Linked DNA regions of Homo sapiens: region 2 is linked to region 1. Evidence: promoter capture Hi-C in 16 types of primary human blood cells and fetal thymus (Javierre and others, 2016). All regions are on one chromosome and are shown on one strand. Each heading gives the region's core, a stretch centred on a gene start or on the middle of the fragment in contact. The rest is flanking DNA. Distances are from core to core; before and after follow the strand shown.

Region 1 (7,744 bases), core at 3,783-6,282:
GGTAAGAGAGCATGACTAGGTCTCAAAAGAAAGAAAGAAAATAATGAACAAAAAATGTTGAGTGGGCAGTATTAAATTAAAAAAAAACCTAATGTATTAAAGAAGGAGAAAAGTATAAAAATTAGTCAACAAGCAGAGAAAGAAAGAAAATATAAAGGTAAAAATGTATGTTATCCAAATGAGACCTCTTAAGAAGAAAAAATAAAGGAAATTCAAAAAATAAGTTAGGAAATAGTGAGTAAAATTATGAAGTTAAAAATTCACCAAAAATTTATTGATATGTCCAAGTTCAGCTTGTAGTGAACAGACTCTTCTTATGCAGAATTTGAGCAAAGTGCTAACACAACAGAGTTAGGTAATGGGATGAGGGTCAGTCAGATCACTCTATTTTTGGAAACTGGTTTCATGACTGCTTCCCCTTACTTAGTCATAAACAGGCTATATAAAAAGCTGTCAGAGTGGAAAGAGGGAGAGGATTTGTGAATTTTTTTTTTTAGCATGTTTTTATGGTTCTGTAAGTCACCACCCTCCCAAAGGGATGAAGTTTCGGGGTGCACTCCCCTTACCTCAGCCTAGTAGGGGGACTTCCAGGAGATAATGAGAGAGTTGGATGTTTCCTCAAATTTACAGACACAAAGACTGGTGCCTGGCTTCTCCTGATAAAGCTAAACCTGCATGTGGCTGGTCTCTAGTTGGCTAGATAGTAGTAGTTAAAATGAAAAGAAACACTTAATGTTAGATGCCATCCAATAGGGCCACCTAAAGGGATGGAAGGTTCTCAACAACAAGAGCCCAGAGGTAGAAGCAAGACTCTTAGCGGGGAAGGATGGAGTCGCAAGTGAAAACCTAGACAAAGAAGCATCTGTCCTGGTCCAGAGGCTTCCCCAATAAAGATGTCTCACACAACTCTAAGAAGTTAGAACTCGAGAAAAAGACTAACAAGAAAAAGAGTAAGGTGTGTTTGTGGAAGAGGTGAGGCAGTTGTTTTCCTATAAATAATGTTAAATTAAACTAAATTTGGTCTGAGGATGCCTCGTAACTTGAGTCGCTACATAACAAACTGCAACCTAACTTAGGAGTATTTTTTTTTTGTACTAACGAGGTGAGTCTCAGCCAATCACAGCAGCCAAGCTACAGCCAATCCCATGTGGCCAACTGATCAGCCTATGCCCAGTAAGACAACTGCTCACCTGTAACTACTCAAGCTGCTTCTGGACCTCATTTCCATTTGCTGTTTATAAGTGCTGCCTGCCCACTTTGCTGAGCAGAACTCTCTGAACTTCTTTCGTTTTTGAGGGTTACTTGATTAGAAAATTGTTCTTTGTTCAATTAAATTTTGCTAAATATAATTCTTTTAAAGATTTTCTTTTAACAACAAAGATGGGGATATTTGAACAATACCTTGGTTGGAGGTGACATTCTAATTTCTAAATTGAGGCTATTTGTATTTTTAGCAGGACCCAAGGACTGTCACTTAAAAGCAGGCTAAAAAGCCTTGAAATTTTCTAACTTTCCATGCGAGAGCAGTGATAGATAACCCCACTACGCAAAATGTCATGGGGCAATGGGAGACAAAAACTAAAGCTGTGTTTCAACTGCGTCTCTGAATGATACGATTATAGCACTTACACAATAACCACTTGAGAAAAAAGAACAGCCTTGCACCAAAAATCGAATGAGAAGTACAAGCACAGTGAAGTAACAGGTCACTTTACAAAAAAAAGTAAAGGCTGAAAGGGGACGAGCAAATTGCCCAAGTCTGCATGGGTGATAAGTAGCAGATCTGGGGCTCGAATCCAGATCCTGAGCTTTTAATACCTATGCAACACTTCCTCTGTTCCTTCCCTTCTGAGAACGTCATTATGTTCATTGGGGTGTATCCCCTGCTATGGTTTACAGGGGAGGGTTCACACTTTCACCATTCTGAAAGATTATTTTGAATTTAAAAAGCTGGCAAGATGTCTCTGAACAATGGAACATAGCCCAAGGCTGCAATTTTGTTGCACACATTACAGTGTTTTAAGGCCACTGGTGGCCTGTTCTTTGAGATGAAAACAATACATCAGTAGGAACAAAGTGAAAGAGAGTAAACTGGTCTCCAGGTACCCAAACAGTATGTGAAGTCAACAGAGGAACACTTCCTGTGGTCTATTAATAATTCAGAAGCCCTTTATCCTCAACCCTCCTCCACTCTCTAATTCCTAAGTCTTCTTCCTAGTGTCTCTTACTTCCTCTTTCCAAATAGTCTGGGCTGGCAGGCTGCATTTAGGTAATCACTGCACAATACAATTACTGATTCTGTTTACAAGATTCTTGCTAGTATTTTATTTTTACCCTTTATAGTGTTTGGCTTTTAAAAGCAAATGAATATGGAGTCATGATTTTTTGGCTGCCTTTCCCTTTGGCATATGATATTTATGCCTTTAAAACTTGTTGTTGTTCCAGGGCATTTCACTGATGAAATTTATCAAAATGAACCTACAAATCAGCCACTAAGAGACTGCATGAATAAAAACTGTTAGTAGGAAAATGATTATGACAAAAAAAAAAAAAAAAACAAAGAACAGCTTTAAGAAAAAGCCAGACTGTTAGTTTTTTTTTTTTTTTTTAGAAGGGTTGATATTCTGAACCCCAGCAACAATTTATCAAAGTCTGTTGCCCTGAATGAAATTAGATTTCCTTTTTAGCTTCAGGAATAGGCCATTCCTGGAAAAGTGGAGCACAGAAACATTTGGTAAAAAAATTTATTTTTACTCACAGAAAGAGTAGTTTGCAATGTTATTTCCAGTGAAGGGATGGGAACCAGGATTCAGATATTCATCTGTCTACAATACTGAGGTCCTCCTACCTCCTCTCCTCTGCAAAGGGACCCTCGCAGTATGCAAAAGTATTAAATATTTTTAATGTGATATTCTTTGGTTAAAATATAGTCACATTCTCATTCCTTTTTTCAAGCATAAGTATCAGTCAGATTTCAGAGTATAAGCTGAAGCAACAAATAGTAACAAAGCCCATGCATGAAGATATGTTCTCACTCATTTTTTTACTATTTTATTGTTGGCTACTTCTTCTATTTGCGTTATATTTAGTGTCACTAAGCTGCTATACACGTACTCATTTGAAGAGATGTGCTAAAGCTTTTAGTGTGTTTTGCTATTGATTATCCTATCCAAGAGTTTGGGTTACTCTACGATCAAGATGGCGGTCTGCAGTGAGCCCACCTGCCCGCCAACCTCTGCAACAACCAGCTGAGGATAATTGCACTGGGCTGACGCCAAGGCCATGATTAGATCTGCTAGTGGGTGAGAACCATGAGACTGAACCTCTAATCCCGAACCTCTCTTCCAAGCTACTTTCCAAACCAACTGCTGCCTGCAACTCCCTTTGACTAAATCTGACCTTCCTTCAAACTGGCTCTCTTCCTAATTTCCAGATTTTATGGAGGCAATGCTGTCCAGTGCATGGAGTTGAAATGAGGCTAAAGTGGGTTTGAATCCAAGCTCTACATTTACTGTTTGATCTTGGGCCAATTATTTATTCTTCCTGAGGCTCAGTTTCCTCCTTTGTAAAATGTCAGTAAAGATTCCTAGCATGTAGGATTTTATGCATTTAAAGAGATAACATTTCTAAGTGACTAGTTCAGTGCCTGGCACAAACACAGGCACTAAATAAGCAGAGGTTTCCTCCCTTTCCCCTAACTGTCAATGGTACTGCCACTGTGTACAGTAGCCAAGTTGGACATGTTGATACCAATTTTTCTCTTCTCCCCCTTTCCCTTAACTGAAGCCAATTATCAAGTTATGGAATATTAGAACTAGCAAGAACCTTAGAAATCCTGACCATATGATTCACCGATAAAATACAGAGAAAGACATAAGTCACTGATCATTGCAGCAATCTTGACCCCCACGTCAATTAAATAACAAAAATAATATCATTTTATGATAGAATTTGTTGCTCGACATTCGACAATCATGTTGAACAAAAGAAGATCAATCAACTATAATCAGTTCAGTGATCATGTACAAACACAGCTTCAGGCTCACAAGTCAAGATCTATTTTCCAAACCATTGTCCTATGGTTATTTATGACCGTGAACATTTTTTTGGTGGTAGAATGTTCCTTGTCACTGGTATATTCCTTTGCCCTATGTCTCTTCTTTCTTTGTCATTTACTAACATGAGGAGAGGGATCTGTCTCAAAGATAATTGGAGGAGAAAGCGATCATAGAACCAAAACAAAGGGGAAAAAATAAGATAATTCCAAAGGAAACAATATCAATGTTTTAAAGCCTAAAAATTGACTACTTAATAAATTACATTACATATACCCTGGAACTATTTTCTCCATGCATTGCATGTGCTATAGCATGAATTCATTTGTGTTCTTCTAGATAGTTTATCCTAAGGGAATCTACTAAGCAAAATAAGAATCAGATAATAGTTCTTTATCACACAACTCTTCTTCCTTTCATATTCCATGCTAAATAATCATGCATGATCCAAACCTCCTATTTAACACTTCACCCTCTTCTTCCTCCTATGTTCCATGTACAAGGGGAAAATAAATGATCCATAGTTAACTTTTTTTATGTGAAGACAGGAAGAATATGAATCATACATCAAGTTAGAGTATAAATAGTTACGTTTATAAAAGATTTAATTTCTTGAATCTCCATAGTCACTGGATATGCGTATCATCCAAGGTTCTCCCAATAATAAAACCAGAGCCAGGAAAGAAAAAAGACCCTGTCTTTAGTGATAGCCCATTGTGCTAAAGTCTACTTATTTGTCAGGGCAACTTGGAAAGTTCTGAAAGACCTGGCCTTCAAAGTTTACCATTTTGTCCACCAGCTCAGTGCACTGACTTGACACGACATGAGGCAAACAAGTGAGGAGAGTGGCCCACCACAGTCTAAGATTCTATTGGGTTACCTCTGAAACGCGAAGACATGCTGCTCACAGAAGAGAACAATGGGTACAAGGACTGCAAGGCTGCAAAGCTTCATCCCAACAGCAATTTTCTGTACAACAAATTTCTCTGAAGAGAAAAACCCAGATCATTGATTGCATAACAGCCTTCTTTACACACTGGTTAAAATATAACGGCATGTTCCCTCTTGTTCCTGTGGGTCAATCAACTTAGCTTCCATTTCCACTCCCAAAAAGAGAAATATTATTGGCTTAGTTAGGCTGTTGCTTGATAATTAAACACTCAAAAAGAGTATGATGAGAGTTGCTCTTAATTTAGACTATCTAGAAAATGTGTAACTCCTTGGGGAAGGTAGGGCCAAGAATAAAAGGGTAGTAATACAGTAGGATCTTGTCTGGTTTATTGCAGAACAATAGCTATAGAATATTGACTAATGGATATATAGCCCATGTTGAGGGAGATCTACCGTGAAGTACTATAAATGTCTTCCCTTGCCTCTGACTTTTTCAACATTTTAAATTTATGAAGATGTAAAAAGTGAGTTCCTCAAATCTGGCTAATCCAATCCAATGTTGAAGTGCAGTTTGTAAGGATGATTACAGGATCTCTGTTCAAAAAGATGTTTCCTTGACCATATGGAATGATAGGCCCACCCCCAATAGGAATACTATTTCATGGAAGCTGGTTCAAGCAGTAAAGACATCAGGTTACTTTGAATCTCATTTATTTAAAGGTCACCATAATAGCCATCAATTAAATCCAGGCCCATCCCCTATCATCTTGAAAGTAGCATCAAATAACATTTTGTCTAGTATGAGGCCATATCCTACCCTCTGTAAGTGAGTGGAGCCCTCTTCCCCTACATTCCCATTGGTTAATGCACTTGAATGTTCTTGAAGTCAGAATTGGCAAATTTGCAAAATAAATCAGCCTGCCCACAATTAACTTCTGAGAAGAAAATGATTTTTTTTCTTTTTTCTTTTCTTTTTTTTTTTTTTTTTTTGAGACAGAGTCTCACTCTGTAGCCCAAGCTGGAGTGCAGAGGCGTGATCTTGGCTCACTGCAACCTTCACCTCTGGGGCTCAAGCAATTCTCCTGCCTCAGCCTCCCAAGTAGCTGGGACTAGAGGTGTGCCCCACCACACCCAGTTAATTTTTTTTGTATTTTTAGTAGAGACAGGGTTGCACCATGTTGCACTGGATGGTCTCAAACTCCTGAGCTCAGGAGATCCACCTGCCTCTGCCTTCCAAAGTGCTGGGAATACAGGCGTGAGCCATCGTGCCTGGCCAGAAGAAAATGATTGAGATTTCAAACTTTTCCTTTTGAGATTTAAAACTATTGAATGATATTTAATGAATTAAAGTGACCTCCACTGTAACCACTTGTTGTATAAGAAAGAAGAAGAAATAAGAAAATATGTGTGTGTCTGCTCATATGTGGAGAAAGAAACATAAGAAGGATAGATTAGAAATCAATGAGACTGGTTATCCACGGGAGGTGAGTGGAAACACACTGGAAAAGACAGGGTAGAAGAGACAGGGAGGGACGCTTCTTTGGGTGAAGTGTTTTGAATAGTTCTGAACTTTAGAACTACTCTGAATTTTAGAACCATGTTCTTTTCACATATGTACTTAAAACAAGCAAACAAATAAATTTTAAAAAATAATACAAACAAAAACGAACCTGTGTTTCAAATGAATAACATAATCACACTGAAGGAGAGAAAGAAAAACTAACCCAAGTAACTTTTACCTTATCTTTTTAACATAAAAGTTAACTTTAAAACAAACAGTCAAAATAGTTAAAATATGCTAATAAATTCTATCAATTTTTGTGCTACTTATTTTGTATCTGTGTTTCTTCTTTATTTTATGTCCTGTTTCCTCTCTGGGGAAACAGAAACAGGATACAAAAGAAACAGAGTGCATAAAAAACAATAAATTTTAAATTACATTTCTTATTGCTGAAGCAATCTTTTAAAAGTTCCTATAGCAAAAGTCTACAGGTGATAAAATCTTTTATGCTCTGTATCTTTAACAATAACTTTCTTTTGCCTTCACTTTCAAGTACTAGTTTAGCTGAATGTAATATTCGAGTGTGACGGATGCGTCATTGTTGTTTGACATTTCCTGTTGCATGGTAGGAATCTGCTGCCCAGGTAATTGTTGTTCCCTTGCAGTTTAGCTGTCCTTTCTCCTTGATAACTTTTAAGGGATTATCTTTATCCTTGGTGCTTCTCAGATCCATTACTCTGGTCTAGATGTGGATTTAGTTTTTATTATCTTACTCAATACACAGGATGTACTTTTGATCTGAGGATTTAGACATTTCTTCAGTCTTGGAAAATCATTTTATTATTTCTTCAGCTATCGTATCTCTGCTAGTGCCCTGTAGGGGCTCCTGTTGGAGCTTCTTGATCTATCTTTCATGTCTTGTAACTGTCCTTTCATGTTTTAAAAACTCATCATCTTTGTCTCTGTATGCTGTATTCTGGGTGAGTTTCTCAGCACTATCTTCAAATCCACTAATTTATTCTTTGAGTCTAATTTAGACTACATAGTCCAGTTGAGGTGTTTTAAATAATTACCTCGATGACTATATAAATCATTTACAGCTGGTTCTTTTGCGTGTTTACTGATTTTGTTTTTATACCAGTATTTTAAAATATCATTTAAGATTTTTTTCAATTTTTTAGTCGATATGATTCCTTTAGATCTCTCATTGAGAATCCTCAGGATACTTATTTTAAAGTCAGTGTTGCACTGCTTTATGAGGTTAATTATGTTTGGGTGAATTCATGTTCTGAGTATT
Region 2 (7,744 bases), core at 2,208-4,707, 280 kb before region 1:
TAAAGTTGATTGAATTAAGGTGAGGTCATTAAGGTGGGCCCTAATCTAATATGACTGGTGTCTTTGTAAAAAGTGGAATTTGGAGGCAGAAACAGACATAGACACATAGAAAAGATGATGTGAGGACACAGGGAGAATGCCATCTACAAGCCATGGAATGCCCGAGGCTGCCATTAGGCAGGAGAAAGGCCTGGGACAAATTATCCCTCACAGCCTAGAAGGAACAAGCCCTGCCAACACCTGGACTGTGAGACAATCAATTCCTGTTATTCAAGCCACCTAATTCATGGTACTTTGTTGTGGCAGCTCTAGGATTCAAATACAGGTACTAGTAGCCCAATCACACTGTCACATGAATTTGATTTCTTGTCTCCCCAGCAAAGCCATTGGTTCTTAAAGGCCTGAACCTACTGCCCCATGGCCCAGTAGAGTGCCTGACACATAGTATGCCATCAAAAAAATTTGGTGTCATAAAAATAATTAGACTTCAAGGTGGAAAATCACCGTAGAGATTTTTAACCATTGTCCTAATTAACTATAGCAAAGATGCTAATTATGAGCAAGTGTTATGCAAATGACTCTGTGGCCCTCTTAATTATATCATTACCTAGACATGGCCCCTAGGAAATAGCTGCGCTCAATTCTTGGGTTGAAAATCAATGAGAGTGGGGCCAAAAGGCAGTCAAGAGACAGTTTGTTGCTCAGCACGTTGGGTAGGAAGAGAGAACAAGAACAAATGTTCACTGTGAAATATCTGGAGGTTCTTTTTCATGTGCCCAGTTGATTTCTGCTTCTTATCTTTCAGCACCACCCTCCACAGAGCAGGGGTAGGGGCCTGAGTACCAGCCAGGAGTGATTTATGAGGGTTATCAGTGGCCGTTGTAGGGAATGCTTCACACCTGTGGGTCCCCGGCAGGACTATACCCCTTTGCTCTTGTGACATGTGTCCCCTGCTGCAAGTGACACGTGGACCCAGAGTGTCTCAGAGAAATCTGGCTCCTTGGCGCTCCCAGTCCAAGCTCCCCAGCATCATCCCTGAGACAGCTGGTGCAACAGGGAGCTTTTCTGAAGACACTGGGGTCTCAATGCGGACCTATATGGTGTCCCACTGCCATGATTCAGGAACAGAGAACAGAAAAATTGCTGTCTTTCTAGAATGTGATCTGGGAACTTGTTCTTCAGCTCCAATATAATTTTCCTAGAGGTGAACATATTTTCTTAGCAATCATTCATTATTTTTTCCAAGTATAGTAAGACAGTATATTGGACCATTTGAAAACAGACTGAGCCAAAAGGACTTTTAAGATCATTAAACTGCATTTGGATTTGAGTCTTTCTGATCTAAGCTTCAGTTACAAATTTACTAACTTGAGTGATCAATGCTGTGAAGAAGTGAGCTAACATTTTCATTATCAAATATATATATATATATATATATATATATATATATATTAGACTAGGGAACAGGCAAAAATGGTATTAATAATGATTGCCTCTGGGCAGTAGGATTATAGGTGATTTTATTTTCTTATATTTTTGATTTCCTAATTTTGAAAATGAACTTATTTTTTATATCATCAGAAAAATGTTACTTGTAAAGGACTTGAAATCCTCAGCCTGGATGACAAATGTTTGCTGTTTGGGAGCTGGGTGTGCCGCAGGCCTGGAAGACAGAAACTCATCATTGTCCTGAAACGGAGCTGGTTTTAAAGTGCCGTGTTCTTGCACTTCACGGCCTGCCCCATGGCCTCCTCCCCAGCCTGGAAAGTTATCTCTGTGAGGCTGTTTTTATTTTCTTTCTTAATGAGGAAATGAAGAACAAAGGCCACAAAGTCGTCCCAAGGTCCTTGCACCCTGGAGAGGGGCGAGCACTTTAGGAGCTCTTTGAATCCCTCCCTCTCCAGACAGAAAGCTTCTCCTTAGATCTAACCCGTCCCCTCTGCTCCAGATTAAAGCTGTTAGCTCTTATTTGAACCTCAGTAGAAGGTGGGCATCCTATTCCATAATAGTCCTGGGTCTACTTGAATAATAAAAGAATTACAACTCGTATTCTCATGACGCTTTAGAGTGGTGATTTCTTAACTGTAAAGGCACAATCTAACTGCCTGGGGAGCGTTTAACGAAGACCACTGCCTGGCCCAACCCTAGAGTGCTGACTTAATCGGTCTGGGGTGGGCACCTACAGCTGGAGTTCTGTAAAAGCTCCCCAGGCAATTCTAATACGTGGCCAGAGCTGAAAACTGCTGCTTCCGAATTTTTAAAGCACGTGTACACTATTTCAGCTGATCCTCAGAACCACTATAGGCAAGGCAAGTCTGCCCTATTTTCCCAGGCAGGTCTTTTTATAGCATTACTTTAAAAACCTTAAATCTCAGTCTACTTCTGGAGTTTTTCCAATTTTCTTTTCCTTTGTGAAATCTACCGTTGATATGCCTTTCAGCTTTAAAACTCTCCAGTTACCTGAATGTAAACTCTCAGCCCTAGAGAACTCCATCTATTCTGTGATTCTCCAAGCACTTGAAAGATTTTGGTCTCAAAACTGCTATCCAAAGACACCATGAAGCCTGTCCTGCTTCTCATCACTCAGCACTATCCTACCCTACCTTTAAGACAAGGTCAAAAGATGCAAAGGCCTTCAGGGCCAGCAGGCACTGTGCAAGTGTTAATCTGGTGGTTTAGTCCTACAGGCCTGACAGTATAGGGAGTGGTGCTGACAGTGTTTGTCAAAGATCTGGGCTGTGACCTGGTGTGACCTTGGGCAAATTACTTACTGGCTCTGAGCCTCAGCTCTCTCCTCTGTAGTAACATTGGGACTGTATTTTTAAAAAAATATTATTTTAGATTCAAGGGTACATGTGCAGGCTTGTTACATGGGTATATTGAGTGATGTTGAGGTTTGGGTTTCTAGTAAACCCATCACCCAAACAGTGAACATAGTACCAAATAGTCTACATTTTAGGCCTTACAAAGGTCAAAGATCCATTCTCATCTGTTTAATCTTCACCACTCTATAATTAGGGCAATTTTTACAACCCGTTTTACATACTAGGCAAATCTGACTTAGGTTTAAGTGAACTTCAGTTAAAAAATTATACAAGTAAAAACTGGCAGAACTTGGTTTTGAAGTCAATTCCTTTTAGTGCCAAACCCTTTATTTGTCCCACAACGCCACATCGAATTCTCTAAGAGTGTCAGTAATGTTAGCTGCCTCAAAGGGTTGTAAGTTAGATTGAATGTAGTCAGGCCCACAGCAGGCACAGGACCTGCCCCCCTTGCTGCTGTCGATAAAGCTCTGCTATTAACAAAAGCAATAACAGAATATTCAAAGTGGTCTGGGGTAGCCTCCATACCCCTCACCTGTCACTGGCCATTTTCTTCCTTCTTTGTAAGCTGGAAGGCTCTGGGCCTAACCTCATCTAATTAAGGCAGAGTATCTGGGGTTGAGACCCAGGTTTCAGCCCTTCCCCTTGGTTTCAAGCTCCCTAGATGATTCCAACATGCAGGTGGAGTTGAAAACCACTGTGGGGAAAGAGACCAGTGCTAAATGTCTTTGGACCTCCAGACACATAGAGCCTGGCACACAAACAATGTTTTGTGGTATAATTTGTTAAAGCAGCGCATCGGAGTTGGAAAAATCCAGGTTTAAATCTCTATCACTTATCAGAGAAGGGGACTTATTTGCTCTGAGCCTTATTCCTCATTTATTAAAAAACAAAAACCACGAGATTGCGCCACTGCACTCCAGCCTGGGCGACAGAGCGAGACTCTGTCTCAAAAAAAAAAACAAAAAAAACAAAAACCAAAAAACCAAAAAAAGAAGCCATCCTCTACTCTGCAGGGCTGTGCTGAGAAGTGACAGAGAACCAAGGCGTGTGCTAATGTGTCCACTGCTGTGAGTGCTAAAGCGGTATGCAAACGTACGGCAGCATGACAGTATCGTGGGTGCTTAATACATATTTATCGATTTCCACGAGATCTTACTTACCCATCTTTTCTTCACTCTTAAACATGAAGCTGGGGGAAATAAATAAGAAATATAATTGCACCTCACACTTCAGGACTCCCTAGGCATCTCGCATTAATAGGTCTCTTCAGCTTTCCTCTAAGTGCTAATAATTCCTGGGCGTTTTGATGGGAGCGCTTTCTCCCAAAGATAAATTGACCCCAGCTAAGAGCCAAGCTCCTAGCCAAATCTCATTACAATCAGCCTTGATGGCAGACAGGATTCAGAATGTAACAAAATTAGAGCTTTTAAATCATTATCTCGACTCTGGGAGCACTGCGTTAACAGATGGGAATGTGGATGATGGAGAAAAGACCTCACACCACACTCTTCCCCAGAAAACGGATTTCCCCCAAGCCAGGAGCGCAGCCCCCAGCCCTGCCTGGGGTGTGTGCTTAGTGTCACCTTGGAGGGAGTGACATCTGAACTGACCTTTTCACACCTTCGTGAAGTAGTCTTCCTGAGGATCCACTTTTCCCAGCTCACTTTTCTGCAGAAGGTAACCATAGGGGAAAATGTGAAATGCTGAGTCTCTTAGGAAACAACTTGGTGAGCAAGAAGTTACTTGGGACAGTACTTTCTGTTGCTGCTTTCCTGAGCTCTGAGCAGCTTCCTCATCTGTTCGTTCATTCAACAGCATCAGTGCACACTGGGCCCTCATATCATACCTGTTCTGGCTACATCCTCTGTGCCTGTGACATTTCTCCGTTTTGTAGGACAGCCCTACCCCAGCTCCCTCGCTTCCTAGGCCTTGTTCTCTGAGTTACAGCTTTCCTCCAAAGGCTCCCTCCCCTGACCATGAAGACCAAAACCCAAGTCTCTCAGCATTCAAAGATCTCTGCCTTCCTCCCCCTGGCCCTCAACACCCCAGCCCTGTGTCTTTGTTTCCTGGTTTCTCCTTAGCCTCTGTCTGGAAGGCGTTTTCCCTTGAGCCTTGTATGGCTGGTTCAGTGCATGTTCTTTTCATTCAGATGTGAGCTCTTGTGACACTTTTTTAAAGAAAGCTTTCCTGGATGACTCAGTCCATAGAAGCTTGTTTTAATTCTCTGCAAAGCATTTAACATTACCTGATATATTTATTTACTTATTATCATTTTCTTCTTCTCTGGGCTGGATTGTAAACCCTGTGAGATCAGACCTGTTTATGTCATTCACTAATACATCTTCAAAGCTTAGGATGATGCTTGGCATATAGTAGGTGCTAAATAAACATTTAAATGGATGGATGGATGGATGAGTGGGTGGGTGGATGGATGGATGGATGGATGAATGAATGGATGGATGGATGGATGGATGGATGGATGGATGGATGGATGGATGGATGAATGGATGCATGGATGGATGGATGGATGAATGGATGGATGGATGGATGGATGGATGGATGGGTGGGTGGATAGATGGATGGATGGATCAATCAATAGCGTTCTCTGCAAGTGCTCCTTGACTCTCCGGGCTTTATTATTTATTACACTCTATGCTTTACCTTATCACGTGCCTCCTGTTCATGTTGCAGCCTTCATCACATGTTAATAGCTCAATCCTAGCATAGTGGACATGTTAAACATATTTCTTCAAGTTAAACATGAAAATCTGCTCTCTAGGAGTTTACAGTCCAGGAGGGAAGGTAGAGCAGGTTCAGAAAGACCTAAACTCTACGTGTGAGTTGTGGGTTCCCTAAAATAAAAAGATAATGTGAGGGCTGAGGGCTGTGGGTTGCAGAGGCTGGCACCCCTCCAACATTCTGGGGTGACAAACATTTCCAGATTGACACCCAGACCAACCCTGACCTGGTGATCCCCTAGGACTGTCTCTGGGCGATGTACACATTAACTGTGATGAACTCAGCGGGCTAGATTAGTCTCTCGAGTAAACCACAGTTTTAACGGCCTGCCCACCACCAATTCCTTTTTTCTTCATGGCTAACAGCTCTTTAGTTTCATTCATGTCAGCTAAGTGGCCACTCTTAGCTCTGAGCCAATCACTATTCTTTGTTTCCCTGGCCCTTCTTGACAGTTCTGATGCCTGTGTGACTGACCCAGCTCTGGTCCGTGAAACTTAAGAGCTGTCTTTTGGAGGAGAGGATCCTGACAAAGCTTTTGCTTTCCTAATAAAATGAAACAGTGTCACCCTTTTCCCCTTCCATTTGTCTTGAATACAGTCAAGATGCTGGAGCTGCAGCCAGTGTCTTGCAAACACGAGGCAGCAAATGCAAAGGAAAGGGCAAGAGAAGAGGAGACAGGCCAATCCTGACATTCTGAGCACCTGAACTATGCTAGAAACCATCTACCCCCAGGCTGTGATTTGTAAGAAAAACAAACCTCTACTTATTCAAACCACTGTTATTTGACCATTCTGCTATTTATAACTGATTTTATTTCTAACTAATATGGAACTCTACAGACATGTCCAATCCAGGCCTGGAGCCAGTCCAGGAGGTCACAGAGTTCTCAGAGGGGTTGGGAAAGTTCCAAACAGCAGCAAAGGAACCCTAGAGCTGGATTCCTTTCCTCCCTCAGTATAGGTGGTTTGCTCCCAGGACAGACTAATGAGTCCCATAGGCTTCAGGAGATACTTCATTCAATTCCTGGCTACATCAGGCTCTGATTGATTCAGTAAAAGCAGTCACCAGGGTAGCCTTGTGTTCAGACTACATGATACCAAAGCAACATTTCCCTTCCAGGCCCCTGCCACCTCTACCAATAAAGTTTTTAATTTTATCTTTCCAGCCAACCTCTGTCTTTCCTTCTCTCTGCTTCCATAATTGTTTGTAGCATCTCCACTCAAGGCTGGCTTCATGGACATCCAATCTGTGCAGTTCCAACAGTGCCCCAATTTAATGCACTACTGTCACTGCTGTGAAATTCTTAAATTTTAACAACGAGGCCCACATTTTCATTTTCACTGGGCCCCACAAATTAGGTAGCCAGTCCCACCTCTGCTAATGGACTTTGCAACTTTCAGCCATGTCTTAGCTCCTCTGAACCTCAGTTTTCTCACCTGTAAAATGAGAATAATAATAACTGCTTTACTGGGTTGTTGGGAGGACTAAATGAGATATCATAAGCAAAGCATCCCCCTTTGTCTGACCTATGGGAGTGCTCTGTGAAGGTTTCTTCTCCTGCCCTTCTCCTCTTGAGTATTTGACCCTGACTGGTTCATAACCTTCCGTGGCTGAAGTTCATGGTCCTGATGCCTCATTTAGAGATGAACTAGCTAAACTCTTTGAGGGGCATGGTGATCTTTATTCTGATGATCTTCACCCCAACGGTGCCTGTCCTTAGCAGGCACCAAGTAAAGGTTTGACAAGTGAACAAATGCTACTCTGAAAGCTGCTAGGATTCTGTGTCGTAGCCCACTTCTCCTTTTGAAGTTGCATTTTGGGAACAGCAAAATTTAACCACAGTATAATAAGGAAGGCATAATTCACTATTTTGCGAGACTCAAAAACTGCTATCCCAGCTTATCTAATGAAAGATAGTCCAAATTTCCTCTCAATCCAGGCTGAGCTTCCATGTGGAATTAGATTAGAGCCAGGACATTTCCATAAGGAATCAAATGCACCCAGGACCAAGCCTCTTTCAGGGGGCCCGAGGTGAAGTCCATGACAATAAAGGTCTCTTTCAATAAGTCATTTTCAACAGTGTGCTCTGGTTTCCTCTAGGATTGAATTCCGGTCTCATTGTCATGCCTGATGGTGAAGGGGAAACCTGCTTACCATGCAGAAAAGCCAGCATCTAGACC

What was found. The method cuts DNA at HindIII sites, captures the fragments that hold promoters and counts their contacts. A CHiCAGO score of 5 or more calls a contact.
Region 2: a fragment that was not itself captured here is called in contact with the fragment with the promoter of CPB2 in region 1 in 1 of 17 cell types (endothelial precursors); the score reaches 5.5 in endothelial precursors.

What each region holds. Positions count from the first base shown.
Region 1 is chr13:46,100,001-46,107,744 of GRCh38, forward strand. CPB2 (carboxypeptidase B2) reads right to left here and starts at 5,033. Exons shown (of 11, transcript NM_001872.5): 1 at 4,936-5,033. The coding sequence starts at 5,009. CPB2-AS1 (CPB2 antisense RNA 1) reads left to right here. Exons shown (of 3, transcript NR_046227.1): 3 at 1-1,347. The HindIII fragment of the contact is 3,608 bases long and covers 5,002-7,744 here.
Region 2 is chr13:45,821,105-45,828,848 of GRCh38, forward strand. All of the region lies in intron 1 of SIAH3 (siah E3 ubiquitin protein ligase family member 3), which reads right to left. Among named protein-coding and RNA genes, the nearest start is that of SIAH3, 27 kb to the right of the region's middle. The HindIII fragment of the contact is 3,095 bases long and covers 1,911-5,005 here.